Linked DNA regions of Homo sapiens: region 2 is linked to region 1. Evidence: promoter capture Hi-C in 16 types of primary human blood cells and fetal thymus (Javierre and others, 2016). All regions are on one chromosome and are shown on one strand. Each heading gives the region's core, a stretch centred on a gene start or on the middle of the fragment in contact. The rest is flanking DNA. Distances are from core to core; before and after follow the strand shown. Region 1 holds the start of ABCB7 (ATP binding cassette subfamily B member 7). Region 2 has its middle 37 kb from the start of PBDC1.

The links. The method cuts DNA at HindIII sites, captures the fragments that hold promoters and counts their contacts. A CHiCAGO score of 5 or more calls a contact.
Region 2: a fragment that was not itself captured here is called in contact with the fragment with the promoter of ABCB7 in region 1 in 5 of 17 cell types (total B cells, total CD4 T cells, naive CD8 T cells and 2 more); the score reaches 8.6 in total B cells.

The regions. Positions count from the first base shown.
Region 1 is chrX:75,154,956-75,161,353 of GRCh38, reverse strand. It overlaps ABCB7 (ATP binding cassette subfamily B member 7), which reads left to right and starts at 5,071. Exons shown (of 16, transcript NM_001271696.3): 1 at 5,071-5,249. The coding sequence starts at 5,082. It also overlaps a transcript of UPRT not described here. RefSeq lists an enhancer at 4,961-5,390. The HindIII fragment of the contact is 6,846 bases long and covers 2,535-6,398 here.
Region 2 is chrX:76,132,980-76,139,529 of GRCh38, reverse strand. No RefSeq gene overlaps it. Among named protein-coding and RNA genes, the nearest start is that of PBDC1, 37 kb to the left of the region's middle. The HindIII fragment of the contact is 808 bases long and covers 1,971-2,778 here.

The DNA.
Region 1 (6,398 bases), core at 3,822-6,321:
ATGGTGACAAGGAGCATGGGCTCTGGAATCAGACCTTCTGGATTTGGATATCATCTCTACCACTTCCAAACTACTTGGGCAAGCCCAGAGCTTTCTTTTCCTCATTTGTAAGGTGGAGATTATAACAGAAACCACTCTTTATGTGCGTTGAGTGGATTAAATTCGATGATACAACTTAAAGCACCCAGTGCAGTGCAGTGCAGTGCTTAAAACAGAATAAATGCCCAATAAATATTCCCTTCAAAAAAGGGAAAAAAAGTGATAAACATAACTTTAAAACAACTACTTATTTTGTGCAATGTTCTCCTAAAATCTCAATAGTAATAAACATGTGTGTATGTGTTTATATATTCATACATATAAATGTATATATATGTTTGTTTCTTCTTTATTCAACATTATTTCATATATACTTTCCCATATACAGTATCAACGCAAGTACATACATATACTTTTCAAATAATAGCTGTTGAGGTATTTCGTTGAACTGCTTTTGGAATATTTGGAATTATTTTCAAAAGTTGCACTGGTCATGGTGGCTCATGCCTGTAAATCCCAGCCATTGGGGAAGCTGAGGCAAGAGGATCACTTGATGCTTGGAGTTTGAGACCAGCCTGGGCAACATAGCGAACCCCATCTTTAAAAAATTTTTTAAATATATGTCAGGCACTGTCGTACACACCTTAGTCCCAGCTACTTGGGAGGCTGAAGCGGGAGGATCCCTTGTCCAGGAGCTTGAGGCTGCAGTAAGCTGTGATTGCAACACTGCACTCCAGCCTGAGTGACAAGAGCGAGACTCTGTCTCTAAAAAATAAATAAACAAATAAAGTAAAACGACAGAAAAAGTTGCTATTATTAATAACACTGATATAAACATCTTTATGCAATGCACCTTATTTTGGGGGAAGGGTAATTTTGGGCTGCATTTTTTAAAGTGTAAACCAGGTTAAGAGGTATACAATAGAGACAAGAGGGCTAACTGACAACATGTAAGAGACACTACCCTACAGACTCCAAACACAGACAAGTTGGTTAAAAGTAGCAACAAAAAGCCCCAAAGTTTTTAAAAAATGCATAGTTGAGCTTGAAAGCAAACAAAGGAAATGTCTAGAGGTTAGAAAACGAAGAGGAAAATCAAACCTATTTATCGCCTCTTCCTTACAGACTCCACCAAAATAACATAAAAGAATAAAACAGAAATAAATCCACAAGGATAAAGAGACTAGGATTAGAGAAGGGCAATGCCGGGATCTTCAACTAAGTCATTATTTTTAAGATCTAAGGCAGGCTGGGCATAGAGGTTCACGCCTGTAATCCCAGCACTTTGGGAGGCCGAGGCAGGTGGATCACGAGGTCAGGAGATCAAGACAATCCTCGGTGAAACCCCGTCTCTACTAAAAATACAAAAAATTAGCCGGGCGTGGTGGCATGCACCTGTAGTCCCAGCTACTCAGGAGGCTGAGGCAGGAGAATCGCTTGAACCCGGGAGGCGAAAGTTGCAGTGAGCTGAGATTGTGCCACTGCACTCCAGCCTGAGCAACTGAGTGAGACTCCATCTCAAAAAAAAAAAAAAAAAAAAAAAATTTAAGGCAAGTATCATAAAATCTTAAGCTATGACTAAGCTGGGTTGTAGGTACATGGTGATTACGTTTTTCTTTGTAATTTTCAGTTATGATTCAATATTTCCAAATGTTAAAAGTACATGGAAAATAAGTTAGTTTCAGAAAGTGATACGTGCTCTAAAAGTGCCTCTCAGACTTGAATGTGCATATGAACAACCTGAGGCATTCTAATTAAAATTCGGATTTTGAATATTTAAGTCTGGCATCGGGCTTGAGATTCTGCATTTCTTTTTTTATTGCTATGTAATAGCTGTACATATTGTTGAAGTACATGTGATATTTTGATACATGATGCATATGATATCATAAACAATATATACAACAAGGTAATAATCAAATAAAGAAACATTTAGCTTTTCTTTATGTTGGGAACATTCTCTTTCTTCCAAATGTGGTGTACATACACAATAAAATATTGTTCAGCCATAAAACAATGAAATCCTGTCATTTGCAGCAACATTGATGGAACTGAAGGTCATCATGCTAAGTGAAATAAGCCAGGTACAAAAAGACAAATACCACATGTTCTCACTCATATGTGGGAGCTAAAAAAGTATATCTCATGAAGGTAGAGGGTAGAATAGTGGTTATCAGAAGGTAAGAAGAGCAGAAGGGAGGGGACAATGAAAAGAGGTTGGTCAATGGGTACAAAAATGTAGTTAGAAGGAGTAATATCTAGTGTTCTATAGTACAGTAGGGCAGGTGACTATAGTTAACAACAACTTACTGTATAGTTCAAAATAGCTAAAAAAGATTCTGCAGTTCTAACAACCTCTCAAGTAATGCCAATGCTAGTGGTCCATGGATCACATTGGAATAGCAAGATTTTAAGGGAAATAACACAAGGCAATGGTGATACAGAGTGGTGGGGACAGGGGGTGGCCTCTTCAGATAAGGTTCTCTTGGAAAGCTTCTCTAAGCAGGTGACATTTGTTTTGAGACCTGAAAGATAAGAAAAAGTCATTTAAAAATCTACAGGAAAGATATTCCTGGTAGAGGGGAAAGCAAGTGGAAAGGTCCTGAGGTGAGAATAAGTTCTGGTATTTTTTAGAAACAGAAGACCACTGTGGCCTTCTTAAATTGCTCAAGTGTTTCTTCCACATTTCAGGTGTTATTAAGTGAAAAGAGCACTATGTTTGGAGTCATAAAACCTAGGTTTGGTCTCCATCCCATTAGCTCTGTGGCCTCTGACCTAGTCACAACTTTTCTTAGCCTCAGTTTCCTCATAAATATGGGCATATTAATAAATAATACCTATCTTCCATGGTCGATGTGAGGACTAAATGAAATAAGGTATGACAAAGCGGATTGTAAGTTACAAAATACTATACACATTTAATTATTGCATACATAAAGTGCTATCATGTGATCTGTGGTTGTAGCAGCTATTTATAGCAGCTTTTATTGTGTATACCTCTGTCTCTTTAATTTATGTCAGACAGTTATGTGTCAAGTTATTACAGGCTGAGTTGGCCTTTTTGTTGCTGCTCTTCCCCAGCAGTGTGCAACTCTTATTATGCCTCACGTTCTATTTCTGGGTGCCCTGGAAATTTTCTTCGGCTTATTTGGCAAATAAATATTTGCCTCACTTTAGCTCATCATAGAGTAACAACTTGGGTATTTCAATGTTATTCACACTTTTTGATCAAAACAGTTGGCTTACAATGAGCACTACTTTTGGAAAAAAATAATTTGGCTCCATTCAAAGACTTTACAACTGGGTGGTAAGATTCAGTGGCAATATTCAGCCCTAAGAGAAATCATTAGTAGAGTCTAGAGTTTCTCTAATGTATACTGTAGCTGTCTAACACAGAATAGATGCTGAATAAATATTTGTTGATGACAATATAGTCATTAATATGAAGCCATTACTGATCTACTGTCAACAATACAATAATAAGCTAGAAACATCCAATTAGTCACTAAGTCTTGCCAATTCCATCTCCTAATTGCCCTGCAATCGATCTACTGCCACTGCTACTGCTAGGTTGAGGCCTTTATTTTATGACTGAACTATTGCATTAACTTCATGACTTCAATATGAACTCCGTCCAATCCAACCTTCTCACTTAAGCCAGAGTAGCTTAATGGACATATAAATCTGATCATGTTACTCTCCTGATTAAAACTCTTCACTGGTTATAGGATAAAGTATTAACTTCTTAGAATGAAATAGAAGGCCCTTTACCATCAGGTCTCTGTTCACTCAGGTTAACCTCCTACTACTTTCCCAAACTCCATAGACTCCTGAACCTGAAAATATTTTCTTATGCCTTCTTGCTTTTAACATGTCATCTTCTTTACGTGTAATTCCAGTCAACCTCTTCAACTTGAATTCTATTTTTCTTTAAATAACTAGCTCAAGCATCCCCTTGAATGAATCCCAGAACAAAAAAGCTAACTGCATGGGCTACAGATTTCTGTTTTTCTTTATCAGACTTACTAGTCCAAAGTACCTCTTCATAAGAAGTCCATAATTATTTGTCTCTTTTGTGTGAAAAGTTGGAGAATGCAGCAGTGAATATAAAATTGCAACTGCATTATTGTCTCCGGGGTTTCAGGTAACATTTACAACTGGAAATGCAGTTTCCTAGATAACTGTAAACATATTTTGACATTTTGTTTGATAATAGTGGTGACAAAAGAATATAAGCCTGTCTTTAAACATGGTCTTCTCTCCATACATTTCACTTTACCACCCTTCAGCCAACCTAAGCGATTTTTCAAGAATTAGGGACGCTGCAAAAACCAAAGCGAAGAGCTAGAAAGAGTGACAAAATTAGTAAAGATGTCTGTAGTCTCTCTGTGTGTGTGTGTGTGTGTGTGTGTGTGAGACTGTCCCACGAGCAACAGACCAAAGGAAAACTGCCCCAAGGTTTGCGCAACAGAGAACAATCAGCAAAGTTAAAGTCCTTACAGGACAGAAAAGCAGTAAATCTTACAGCTGAAGCCTCCTCCCAGGGGAAATTAACGTCTGTAGTTTAATCTTTCCTTAATTCAGAAGGGAGTGAAGATAAGAATATGCATAGGGAAAATGGAGAGAGGGGAGCGTGACATTGAGTTGGAGGAGGTAAGAGAGTATTATGAGAGACAAGATGGGGTTGACAGATTTAGCAGATACAATATTTGGGACACACGCACGAAGAGATGATTCGTTGTTTATGTAAAATTGAAACTTAACTAGGTAGGCATCCTGTATTTCATCTGGCAACTCCAGGAAAAGAGAAAAATACAGTGTTACTCCAATATTCCCGGTTGTGTAAGGAAAACAATCAAAGCTCGGCCCTAAGGAAAAACAAATAAAAGAGGCTGTGCGAATGCATCCGAATCTTCAAACAGAATCCATTTCCGGTCTGGGGCCCTGGGAAAACAAGAAGAGGAGAGACAATTAAGGTAGCCGAATTCAGTCCGCCAGTGTCCCATAATCCTCTTCTCTCGGTTCCTCTTTCCTCGCTCAAGATGGCGCTGCTCGCGATGCATTCTTGGCGCTGGGCGGCCGCGGCGGCTGCTTTCGAAAAGCGCCGGCACTCCGCGATTCTGATCCGGCCTTTAGTCTCTGTTAGCGGCTCAGGTCCGCAGTGGAGGCCACATCAACTCGGCGCCTTGGGAACCGCTCGAGCCTACCAGGTGAGATGCCACTGACATGGAAGAATAGGGTGAAGGGCAAGGGGACCTGTAGGGAAAAGGTTGCCCTCCTGACCTCGGGGCAGAGAGAGCACCAAGAAGAAAGTCATGGCTAACTGGGAGCAGCAGTAAGTGAAGGAAATTAACGTCAGTAATTTGAGGAAAGGGCGAAGAAGAAAACCTTTGAGTTCAGCAAAGGGAAACGGGGCAGGAGGTTCTGGGCAGAGGACACCTGGAGCGCTGGAGGCTCTCGGAGTCATAGTTTTTCTCTCATATTAAGAGTTGGGGTAGACACCATTCCCAGCCTGCTTGCCTTTCTAAAGACGAGGAAGACTGGATTATTTTCCCCAATTAGTAATGGAATTTGGGACAGTTTATCTGTGGTTCAGATTTTACTCAGTTGGAATTAGCAATTCGGAGAGCACTGTAATGACAGCAAGCTATCTATAAACAGGTGGCGCCAGTTAACTCCCTTGCTGACAGGCGTGCTTCTTGATAGGCCAAAACCGTAACTATCTTTCCAAAACATAGACCGCCCTAAATTCTTGTATAAATATGACTGTCCTAGATCTGAAAAATACAGTGATGTTCTCTGTGCACAGGTCATTTTGGAAGCCATAGGCTACTTATCCTTAACTTATGAATGTAGCTATGGTTGTAGTGCCTCCTAAAATTTGAGTCCATTATTACCTCTCACTCAGGAACGGTTTTTTAAAAAATTATTTGTACTTAACTGTACTAAAGTATATCTTTTTATTTTCTGTGTATTGACAAGAGGTTTAATTGCCACCACGTATTTATCACTATCACTTTAAAATATTGTCAGTTTTGTATGAGAAACAACCTCTTAAATTTTGATTCTTCATCTACAAATATTTAACGTCTACCTTGTACATAGCCCTGTGCTAGATGATAGGGTACTAAGAGAGACATACAGTTATGCCTTCAAGGATTGTACAGTTTAGTTAAGGAGATTGGATCTATGCATTACAAAAATAACTGAAAAACACAGTGGTGGGTTAATTAGCAAATGAATAGTATGTACAATAAAGGCTATAGGCATCCAGAGGAAATAGTGATAATTAAGGACCAGGTTATAAAGAGTATTTCATGCTGGTGATAGAACTGGGGAGAATGTTCTGAACAGGGAGA
Region 2 (6,550 bases), core at 1,125-3,624, 980 kb before region 1:
GTGTCCCCAAAATTGTATGTGTTATACCTTAATCTTCAATGTGGCAGTATGGAAAGATAGGGCCTTTAAGAAGTGTTTGGGTTATGAGGGCTTTGCCCTTATGTATGGATCAATCCATTCATGGATTAATGGATTAATGGATCGTCATGGCAGTGGACCTGGTAGCTTTATAAGAAGAGGATGAGAGACCTGAGCAAGCACACTCAGCCCTCTCACCATGTGATGTTTTTCTGGAGTTCCTTATGCCCTTTATTAATGCTACCTCAGGACTCTGCAGAGAGTCCCCACCAGCAAGAAGGCCCTCACCAGATACAGCCCCCAAACTTGGACTTCTCAGCCTCTATAATTGTAGGAGATAAATTCCTTCTCTTTATAAATTATCCAGTTTCAGGCATTCTTTGATAGGCAACAGAAAACAAACTAATACACCCTCTTCCCCATAGGAGCCAAAACCAGGGGCCAAGATGTTGCTGGAGGTCTTCTCTTGGTTACTTATCCCCAGGCCATTCTGCTCTTCCTCATATGACACAGTTCAGAGTTCCCTCATCACCTTAGCTACGGCCCTGAAATAGCTCCAGCCTCATGGTGTCCTCTCTAAAATGTGATGATCGGCTCTGAGCACCATACTCCTTTTTTGCTATGACAGGTAAGAAGCAGAGTGGGCCTATTGGCCACTTTCTTCCTGGATTCTGAATTGCTATTTATGCAGCCCCATCACAAGGCTAACACACACTGGCTCCACTAATTGGGAACTGATTTAGGAAATGTTCATTTAATTGGAAAAACATTTTATGTACCCTGGGAAGGTCACACTTTACCCAGCCTGTTCATTTCTCTGCTCAAATCATTATCATACTGAGCAGAAGAATTTCCAGTACTATTCAGCTTTCATGAATTATAGAATGTTTGAGATGGAAGATGTTTGAGGAAACAGAGATTCAGGGAAATGAATTTGTCTGCCTAAGGTCACCCAGGGAGTTCGTGGCTGAGCATACCCTAGGACTCAGATTCCTTGAAGCCCAGGCCAGACTCTTTGGGGCCTCAAAGAAGTCAGCCCCAGATGACTCTTCTACAGCTCTTATTCAGGGCACACCTTAAGAGTGGAAACAGAAAATCCCTAAAGCTGCCAAATATTTCTGTCTTGACCTGATACCTTCCCCATACCTTGAACGCTACTGCCTGACTTCTTGAGGAGCCAAACCATGAGAGAAACTCAGAGTGCATTAATAAAGGGCTTAAGTAACCATAGGAAAACATAAGCCTGTGCCAGAAATGCTGCCACCAGGAAATTTAAATCTCTGCAGGACTTATGGTACTTGATTGGCTCCATGCTCTGTGGGCTGATGCCAAGCCCAAGAACCAAGGTAACTAATTCTTAGGGAAGTCCAAGTAGACACCAGAAGAGGAAACCAAACCCTCATGGTAAATAAAAATCATTACCAGAATATTGTTTCCTTGACACAGCCTCTGACAGCCATGAGTGGCTCTCCACATCTCTTAAACTGTGACAGGTGGCAGTAACCCAAAAAAGCTCAGACAATGGTCCCAAAAGTAGCATCCCCTTGGGTTTTCATCCATTTTCTGAGTGTGTCAAGTTCCTACTGGACTTAACTTAAATCTACAACTAGGGAAGAGAATGAGTGCCATGAGCAAGAGAACAAGTAGGAAGGGGTAAAGCAGGGAAAAGACATATGGAGGTACAGCTGAGACTAATGTCTTGAGCAAAAAATATTTGTGTTCCCTTCTAGTCCTATTCATGCTTGACCACCCTTCCAAATTCCACCCCAATGAACTTAGAGTCTCAAAAACCGCATAAAAAATTCCAGGTTCAGACACTGAAGCAAGGAAAGGGACAGCCACTTATACAAAATTATAAAGTAAACTAGCAGCAGTATCACAGAAGCCTCCTGACTTCCAGAGCAAAGATCTTTTTACAAACATCCCAGCAAGTAATTTCACTTATTCAAGCTTCCATTTCCTCATCTAGAATGAGGGAATAATAATATTACCTACCCCAAGAATCTGCTGTAATAAACTAATGCCTGGAAAACACTTAGCGAAGTCCCTGACCACTGTAAAAGCTCAATCTATATTAACCATTATTATTATATTGGGTTATCTTCTCCACTTGCCAGAATGCAATGGGCTGCCAGCTGCAACCCTATTGTCACTTCTACATCTAGCCTCCTATCTTGCACATACACTTTGAGTTTCCAACTTCTAGTTTCTTTATTGACATAGAAAGGAAGATACTATCTGTGGGAAGGAATAGAAAAAGGAAAGGTGTTTTGAACTACCTCAGATATCAGTGCTAATAAAGTTTTGAGGGAGATGGCAAATTTTCTGACTGGTATAACTTTTCTGTTGCTGAGCCAGGAATCAAAGTGTGAGAGGGATAAAGCATGTGAAATACTGAAAAGAGTTCTATTATAGTTTGGAGTCTGGCATGCCTGTGTTTGAACCTCAGATGTGCCTCTTATTACATGGCCTTAGGCAAGTCAGTCACTTCAGTTTTCCAAGACAAAGTTTCTTCACTTGTCAAATATGGCTCATAATTTCACATCCTCACAGGATCATTATGAAGAGTTCCAAGGGAGAAATGATGAAGTGTGTGTGTGTGTGTGTGTGTGTGTACACAGACAGATATACGTTCCTCCACATATAGTGAGTATTCAATAATTGGGTACTACATCACTCAATTTAGAATTTATGGGAATGTTTCATATATTCTGGCAATGGGTTCATTCTCAGTCTTACTTTTCAGAGTTACTGCAAGCTTTCCTCCTCTTCTGGATCTTCTTTTGTATATTAGTCAGAAGCCAAGAAAGGCAACATCAAGTACTGCTTATTAAAGACCATTTTAAGCTGGAAACCCATTACTAAAAATCAAAGATATGTGACTATTTTTTCACCAATTGTAATTACAAAAAAATTCACCCAAAAAATTGATAAAATACTGTTAGCAAGGCTATGGGAAATTTTGACACATTGTTGGTGACAGTATAATTTGGCACACATGTTGAAGGCAATTTAGGGCGTCTATCAACTTATGAATGCATAAGGCTCTAACAAAACAAATTAACCTCTGGAAATTTATCCCACAGACATGCCGGTATTTGTATATATTTTAAAAAAATATGTGCCAGGTTGTTTACTGAAGCATTGTTTGTAAGAGCAAAACCTTAATGTCTATCATCAGAGCAACACATTAAATAAATTATGGTACAACCATACAATGAAGCTACAAAAAATAACAAGGAAGTGTTCAATGTACTGACATGGAAAGACCAGTGAGATATATTTTAAGTGACTTAAAAAGTGTATATTGTGCCTAGTGCTGTGGCTCACTCCTGTAATCCCAGTATTTTGGGAGGCCGAGGCGGGTGGATCACCTGAGGTCGGGAGTTCAAGACCAGCCTAACCAACATGGTGAAACCCCGTCTCTACTAAAAAAAGAAATACAAAATTAGCCAGGCATAGTGGCGCATGCCTGTAATCCCAGCTAATCGGGAGGCTGAGGGAGGCGAATCACTTGAACCCGGGAGGCAGAGATTGCGGTGAGCCGAGATCGCTCCGCTGCACTGCAGCCTGGGCAACAAGAGGGAAACTCCATCTTAAAAAAAAAAAAAAAAAAAAGAAAGAAAGAAAAGAAAAGAAACAAAAAGTGTATATTGTATGCTACAAATTATATGAAAAAGTGGGTGGGGGCTATCTCCTTATGTAAACACACACAAAGTTTACAGAAGAAATGAATAAAAATAGTTAACTGTGTGGGTGGAGAAGGTGGGAACTGGGGAGATGGGAGATTAAGCTGGAATAGATACTTTATGCTTCTTCTATTTGGTTTTTGATACATGAAATATATTACCTTTTCGGTAAGTTTTATTTTAAAAAGACAATCAGCCCGGGGCGGTGGCTCACGCCTGTAATCCCAGCACTTTGGGAGGCCGAGGCGAGCGGATCATGAGGTCAGGAGAACGAGACCATCCTGGCTAACACGGTGAAACCCCGTCTCTACTAAAAATACAAAAAAAATAGCCGGGCTTGACGGTGTGCGCCTGTAGTCCCAGCTGCTGGGGAGGCTGAGGCAGCAGAATGGCGTGAACCCAGGAGGCAGAGCTTGCAGTGAGCCGAGATCGCGCCACTTCTCTCCAGTCTGGGTGACATAGCAAGACTCCGTCTCAAAAATATAAATAAATAAATAAATAAATAAATAAACAGACAATGATAAAGTTGGAAAACTTTACAATATACATGATACAAAATTGATATCCTTATTGTATAATCTTACCAACTAACGTACATTCCCAAATCATTATGTACAAAGATGATAGTCATTGTACTTTATTAATGGTAATGAAATACGAAGAGCTAAATGTGTGATAAGACAGTGAGTAAATAAATGATAAGATATGGATCTTTGGCAGGTGAATTATTTGGCAACCTTTAGAAATACTGTTCTGGGATAATTTTTGAATTTTATTATGTATAAATATATATTATTTCAATAGCTTTTGGGGCACAAGTGGTTTTTGGTTACAAGGATGAATTGTATAGTGGTGAAGTCTGATTTTAGTGCACCTAACATCTGAGTAGTGTACATTGTACCCAATATGTAGCTTTTTATTCCCCACACCTTCCCACCCTCTCTGCTTCTGAGTCTCCAGTGTCCATTATACTACTCTGTCTGCCTTTGCATACCCATAGCTTAGTATCCACTTATAATTGAGAACATAAGGTATTTGGCTTTCCATTCCTGAGTTACTTCATTCAGAATAATGGCCTCCAGCTCCATCCATGTTGCTGAAAATACATTTTTTTTATGGTTGAGTAGTATTCCATCGTCTGTGTGTTTGTGTGTGTGTATACATACCACATTTTCTTTATTCACTCATCAGTTAATGGGCACTTAGGTTGGTTCCATATGTTTTCAACTGTGATTTGTGCTGTGATAAACATACATGTGCAAGTGTCTTTTTGATATAATGACTTCTTTTCTTTTGGATAGATACCCAGTAGTGGGATTGCTGGATCGAATGTTAGATCTACTTTTAGTTCTTTGAGAAATCTCCGTACTATTTTCCATAGACGTTGTACTAACAACCTCTATTTCCGTCCCCACCAACAGTGTAAAAGTGTTCACTTTTCACCATATCCATGCCAACAGCTATTGTTTGTTGACTTTTTAGTAATATTCAGTGTACCTAGGGTAAAGTGGTATCTAATTGTGATTTTAATTTGCATTTCCCTGATGATTACTGATGTTGAACATTTTTATATGTTTATTGGTGATTTGTATATCTTCTTTATAGAAGTGTCTATTTGTGTCATTTGCCCACTTTTTGATGGGATTATTTGGGTTTTTTTTTCTTGCTGATTTGTGTGGGTTCCTTGTGGATTTTAGATATCAGTCCTTTGTTGGATGCATAGTTTGCAAATATTTTCTGCTATTCAGTGGGTTGTCTGTTTACTCTGATGATTATTTCTTTTGTAGTGCAAAAGTTTTTAGTTTAATTTAGGTCCCATTTATTTATTTTTCTTTTTGTTGCATTTGCTTTTGGGGTCTTTTTGTTTCTCTTTTCTTTTTTCCTTCAACTTTTATTTTAAGTTTAGGGGTACATGTGCCTTATGTGCAGGTTTGTTACATAGGTAAACGTGTGCCACAGTGGTTTGCTGCAAAGATCATCCCATCACCTAGGTATTAAGCCCAGCATCCATTAGCTATTCTTCCTGATGCTCTCCCTCCCTTCACACCCCCTCTGACAGACCAGATGTGTATTTCCCCCCAACCCATGTGTCCACGTGTTCTCATCATTCAGCTCCCACTTAAAAATGAAAACATACAGTGTTTGGTTTTCTGTTCCAGGATTAGTTTGCTGGGGATAGTGACTTCCAATTCCATCCATGTCACTGCAAAGGACATGATCTCCTTCCTTTTTATGGATGCATAGTATTCCATGGTGTATATATGTAGCACATTTTCTTTATCCAGTCTATCACTGATGGGCAATGGGGTTGATTCCATGTATTACTCTTGTGAATAGTGCTGCAATAAACATACGTGCACATGTATCTTTGTAATAGAATGATTTATATTCATTTGGGTATATAGCTAGTAATGATATTGCTGGGTCAAATGGTATTTCTGCCTCTCTGTCTTTGAGGAATTGCCACACTCTGTCTTCCCCAATGGTTGAACTACTTTACGCTCCCACCAACAGTGTAAAAGTGTTCCTTTTTCTCCACAACCTCGCCAGCATCTGTTGCTTTTGACTTTTTAATAGTCACCATTCTGACTGGCATGAGATGGTATCTCGTTTTTGACTTGCATTTCTCTAATGATCAGTGATGTTGAGCTTTTTTTCCACGATTCTTGGCCACATGTATGTTTTGAGAAGTGTCTGTTCATGTCCTTTGCCCACTTTTTAATTTTTTTCTTTGTAAATTTGTTTAAGTTCCTTGTAGACTCTGGATATTAGACCTTGGTCAGGTGCATAGATTGCACAAATTTTCTTCCATTCTGTAGGCTGTCTGTTCTTTCTGATGACAG